2 separate regions of the Homo sapiens genome follow, and region 2 is linked to region 1. Evidence: promoter capture Hi-C in 16 types of primary human blood cells and fetal thymus (Javierre and others, 2016). All regions are on one chromosome and are shown on one strand. Each heading gives the region's core, a stretch centred on a gene start or on the middle of the fragment in contact. The rest is flanking DNA. Distances are from core to core; before and after follow the strand shown.

Evidence for each region. The method cuts DNA at HindIII sites, captures the fragments that hold promoters and counts their contacts. A CHiCAGO score of 5 or more calls a contact.
Region 2: a fragment that was not itself captured here is called in contact with the fragment with the promoter of BCAP29 in region 1 in 1 of 17 cell types (monocytes); the score reaches 5.2 in monocytes.

What each region holds. Positions count from the first base shown.
Region 1 is chr7:107,578,756-107,581,585 of GRCh38, forward strand. It overlaps BCAP29 (B cell receptor associated protein 29), which reads left to right and starts at 1,491. Exons shown (of 8, transcript NM_018844.4): 1 at 1,491-1,546; 2 at 2,004-2,109. The coding sequence starts at 2,018. It overlaps DUS4L-BCAP29 (DUS4L-BCAP29 readthrough), which reads left to right. Exons shown (of 13, transcript NR_163941.2): 7 at 2,004-2,109. RefSeq lists a silencer at 1,349-1,838 and an enhancer at 1,929-1,998. The HindIII fragment of the contact is 6,036 bases long and covers 1-2,830 here.
Region 2 is chr7:107,749,190-107,752,019 of GRCh38, forward strand. All of the region lies in intron 2 of CBLL1 (Cbl proto-oncogene like 1), which reads left to right. Among named protein-coding and RNA genes, the nearest start is that of CBLL1-AS1, 6.0 kb to the left of the region's middle. The HindIII fragment of the contact is 5,237 bases long and covers 1-2,830 here.

The DNA.
Region 1 (2,830 bases), core at 241-2,740:
CACTTTTGATTAAAAGTAACTTCCTGGCCGGGCGCGGTGGCTCACGCCTGTGATCCCAGCACTTTGGGAGGCCAAGACGGGCAGATCACGAGGTCAGGAGATCAAGACCATCCTGGATAACACGGTGAAACCCCGTCTCTACTAAAAATACAAAAATTAGCTGGGCGTGGTGGCGGGCGCCTATAGTCCCAGCTACTCAGGAGGCTGAGGCAGGAGAATGGTGTGAACCTGGGAGGTGGAGCTTGCAGTGAGCTGAGATTGCGCCACTGCACTCCTGCCTGGGCAACAGAGCAAGACTCTGTCTCAAAAAAAAAAAAAAAAAAGTAACTTCCTGGCTAGGCGCGGTGGCTCACACCTGTAATCCCAACAGTTTGGGAGGCCAAGGCAGGCAGATCACTTGAGTCCAGGAGTTCGAGACCAGCCTGGCCAACATGGTGAAACCCTGTCTCTGCTAAAAATACAACAATTAGCTAGGCATGGTGGCAGGCGCCTGTAATCCCAGCCACTCTGGAGACTGGGGCCAGAGAATCACTTGAACCTGGGAGGCAGAGGCTACAGTGAGCCGAGATCGCACCACCACAATCCAGCCTGGGCGACATTGGGAGACTCCATCTCAAAAAAAAAAAAAAAATCTTCCTTATGGTTAATTTATGTTCAAAGTCTATTTTTCTATTTTTTCTGTTACATGTGATCCAGAATATTAGTGATAAATTAAGAAAAAGCACCAACTTAAATGTGTTTTTGAATGTTTTATATTCTATAATTATCAATTTTCAACATTTATTTACTATTCCCCAAATAATTGTTACCAGGATAGTACTTTTATTAAATTCCTGATACGTTGTCAATATTGAAAAAACTCAACAACTTAAATGTACACGCACAGTTTGAAAAGCTGGAAAATAGTGAAAGAATATCCCCATACCCACCTTTCGTACCAGTCCCCAAACATCACGGTAAAGTTTACTGTCTCTTCCCAGCCCATGGACGGGAACGGGAACGCCTACGGAATATGTTGTGACATACAGTTGATCCTAGGTTCTCCAGAACAAAATGCTGCACGACCACCTCATCCTGGCCCTTTATTAAATATAGCTTAATTCTGGACACAAACAGTTCCCACCATGAAGAGAGAGTAGGTGACCGGAAAGGAGTGCGTCTTAAGCGCGTTCGCTGAATTTGCACCACCCAATCCAGCCCCGCCGCCCGGCGCCGCTCCTTAGACCTGGACCCCGGCACCCTCCCGCCGGGGCCGCACTTAGCAGTGGAAAGTCTGTCCTCCTGAAGAAGTTGCGCTCCGACCTCCAAGCATCAGGTCAAAAGTCTAACTCATTCTCTGACCTGCCGCCAATTAGAAAACAACTGTTGCCAATAAACGTGGTCGCGCCGCCTGTGACCTCAGCCGGGACGGACCCGCGGGCGGGAGCCTGCGGGGCGTGAGGCGGGGTGGGGCCCTGGCTCCCCTCCCCCGCCCAGCCGCGGCGTCTGACGTCCCGCGCGTCGGCGGCCGCGGAGCAGCGCAGGGAGCCAGGCGGGCTGCCGGCGGGTAAGGGCTTCTGCGACCCGGGGACCCGTGGGGCGTAGGCCGCGGAGGGAGAGCGCCGCTGCCTGGTCTGGAGAACCCCGCGGAGCTGGCCTGGCCCGACCCGGCCCGGCCCGGTCCGCGGCGCGGTGGTCGAGGGCCCGCGGCGCCTTCTGGGAGCGGGAGGGCCGGGAAGCCGGGCGTTGGTGGAGGGAGGCGTTGGGCTTCTGTCGCCGCGAAGCTGGCGGAAAAGGCAGTGGCCAGCGAGCCGCCTCGCCAGTTCCCACGACTCCCAGGGAGGTGGCGACACCCGCTTCCCGGGCCACCCTTTTCCCCTTCCTGACCGGGGTCCGTGCTTGCCTTCCCAGGTGGGGGAAGGTGGAACACTGTCCATCCCCTGGACAAAAACGCTGCGCCTCGGGGCCTTGAACCCGGTTTTGTTTGAAAGGAAGCAAGAGAAAATAAGTGTTTTTCCATTTAGGTGTGAAGAAAAAAATGACACTCCAATGGGCTGCAGTGGCAACCTTTCTTTATGCCGAAATAGGACTCATTTTAATCTTCTGCCTACCTTTTATTCCTCCTCAGAGGTAGGAAACCTTCAAATCGTTAACTAATAAATATTGGATCGCTCTTAATGTAAAATGGAAAAAGTTTTCTGAACATTAAAAAGTTTCGAAAGTCTTTGAAAATAAACTCACCTAACGAATTAGGTAGTATATAATGACAATATTAAAATAACATTTTATATAAAACTCTGTTACGTGTACAAGTGAAATAACTTTTTCTTCCCTTCTAAAAGAAAAGGCGCCTATACTTTTGATTCTGTTGATTACAGATATAATAAAGCAACGATTATACTTTTAACACCTGCCCTGCCTTGTCTCAGGTTTTACCTTTGTTTTATTGCCCTGAATTGGAGCCATGAACTAAATAAATATAAGTGGATAAATCATGTTTACAGTACAGCATGGGTGTAAAAGTGTTTCACTGAGGCACTGGAACAGCAATTTAGAAACCAAAGCCAATAAATTATTCTTAGTTTTCGCCTTTGTAACCGTTAGTTTCATTAATGACAATTTTACTACTTTTGATTTCACATAAAATTAATGAATGTATATTAAAAGTGCTGAATGTGAAAAGTATCACAACCATGTATTAGCATTAGTTCGTTAGTGACGGAACTTCTAAGGTCTTGAAGAACCAAGTACAGTGTTTCAAGCCAAGCAGTGGTTCATTTTACCCTTGCAGTAATCTACTTTTTAGTCGTTTAATTTTAGATCCAGAAATTTGATAGTATGAATGGGGAAA
Region 2 (2,830 bases), core at 234-2,733, 170 kb after region 1:
CACATTGTATTTTTATTTTCCTTTATAAATATTTTTTGATTTGGTTCCTTTTGTTGTTGAAAGCAATACTGCCCATTGTTCAGTAATCTCAACAGTATTGCAGAAAGCATAACATTAAAAGTAAAATCCTTCTATCCAAAGATAATCCCTGTTGACTTTTTTATACAAAAGTATTAATTTTTTATGTGTAGTTGCCATTTTTTCATGTAATATGCATTTGAGATTTTTTTCTTATCAGTACTTACAGATGTACCTCATTAAAAAAATAGGTTTGGGTATTTATAGATATACCATAATTTATTTAACAGTTTTTCCAGTTTTTTCTGTTACAAAAAACATTGCACCAAATATTCTTGGACATACAGTTTAGTATGTATACTTTGTAGAATTTGTACTTTGCACAGATTTGGCCTTTTTTTTTTTTTTAAGAGCAATTTGACAGTACTTGTCAAACTCTAAAATCCACAGTATCTGTCAAGTTTTAAAATATCCAAATTTGTAGTTTTAAAGGCTTTGGAATTAAAAAAATAATAATAAAAAGGTATGTTAGTTTTTACTGCCATACACCAATACTGAGTACTAGAAACCTTTTAAAATTTTTGTTTTGATGTAAATTTATTTTAATTATGAAAGAGTGTATATTTTTTCATAGCATTGACCATTCTTGTTTAGATCCTTTCTTCTGAGTTCTTTGTAAATTAATAGGGTTTTTGTTATATGTTATGTATGTGCGTGTGTGTATATATATTTTTTTGTTTGTTTGTTTGTTTGTTTTTGTTTTTTTGAGACTGAGTCTTACTCTGTTGCCTGGGCTGGAATGCAGTGGTGGGATCATGGCTTGATATTCCAGGCTCAAGTGATCTTTCCACCTCAGTCTCCTGAGGAGCTGGGACTACAGGTGCACCCCACCTGCCTGGCTAATTTTTTATATTTAATTTTTGTAGTCATGGGGTCTTGCTATGTTGCCCAGGCTGGTTTTGAACTCCTGGACTCAACAGTCCTCTTGCCTTAGCCTCCCAAGGTGCTGGGATTACAGGCGTGAGCCACTGTGCCTGGCCTATATTGTATATATTCTTCATTTGTCTTTTGAATTTTGTATACAAAATATTTATTGCAGAGAATCTTTTTTTTTTTGAGACAGAGTCTTGCGCTGTCACCCAGGCTGGAGTGCAGTGGCGGGATCTCGGCTCACTGCAAGCTCTGCCTCCCAGGTTCATGCCATTCTCCTGCCTCAGCCTCCCGAGTAGCTGGGACTACAGGTGCCCGCCACCACGCCCAGCTAATTTTTGTATTTTTAGTGGAGACGGGGTTTCACTGTGTTAGCCAGGATGGTCTCGATCTCCTGACCTCATGATCCGCCCGCATCGGCCTCCCAAAGTGCTGGGATTATAGTTATTGCAGAGAATCTTGAAGATTCTATATAGTCAGATATCCGGTCTTTGCTTTTATGACTTCTGGGTTTTGTGACATTATTTGAAAGGCCTTCCCCTATTTCACCAGTATAAAAGAGTTTTTCCATCTTACCCTTGATTACAGGTTAGCAAACTATGTCTGTGGGCCAAATGTAGCCCTGTTTTTATAAACAATTTTATTGGAACACAGCTATGCTCATTCATTTAAGTATTATCTATGGGGGCTTTCACACTATAATGGTAGAGTTGAGTAATTGTGATTGAGACCATATGGTCCACAAAGCGTAAATATTTACTATTTAGCATTTCACAGAAAAAGTTCACTGATACTGCTTTAGAACATTTATGGTTATTAAGGGGAAAAAAGGTGGGGTCTGGCTTTTTTTTTTTTCCCTCGAAACATTGTCCCAACTCTTTTCCTTGCTGAATAGGGATTTTACTGTTATCATATATATGTTAAAGCAGCAGTCCCTAATCTTTTTGGCACCAGGACTGGTTTCGTGGAAGACAGTTTTTCCACAGGTGGAGAGTGATGGCAGGGTGCGGGGAGTGGTTTCGGGATGCAACTGTTGCATTAGTTAGATTCTTGTAAGGAGCACCAACCTAGATCCCTCTCTTGCACGGTTCACAATAGGGTTTGCGTTCCTATGAGAATCTAATGAGGCTGCTGATCTGACGGGAGGCGGAGGCAGAGGTCAAGTGGTAATGCTCCCTAGCCCTTCCCTCACCTCCTGCTGTGTGGCCGCATTCCTAACAGGCCAAGGGTACTGGTCCAAGGCCTGGGAGTTGGGGACCCCTGTATTAAAAGTATTTTTTTGTATTTCTGGACTTTCTGTTCTATTCCAGCAATTTGTCTGTATTTATTTTGTAGAATCAAACTGCTTTAGTTACAACATATGTTATGGTTTCTTTTATCGTAGGGTTCCTCTGCCATCTAAACAAGTATATTTCAAGTCAAAATGTTAGAAATCGTGTTAGTAATAACCTAGGGCTGCTGTTGCACTACCTCTAATTTAGGGTCACTCCTGCTTTGGCTTTGTTTAAAAAAATAGTTTTTTAAAACAACACGTTAGTGTACAAATAATTCTTTAATAGTTCAAACAATGCAGAAAAGCCAAAATCCTTTTCTCTCCTTTCCCTCTCGGATTTTGGAGTAAAATAAGTTTGTTTTTGATTGTTGTTTTCCTAGGCATCAATCAAAATATATATAGTTTAATGATGGGAGTACAGGTGGAACTACTCTGAAAAATGATAATGTGCTCCTAATTTCCTTGGCTGTTATCTCAATAATTTTCTGGTTTGAAAAATTGAGTTTCTGCCAGGTGTGGTGGCTCACGCCTGTTTTCCCAGCACTTTGGGAGGCTGAGACGGGCGGGTCATGAGGTCAGGAGATTGAGACCATCCTGGCTAACACAGTG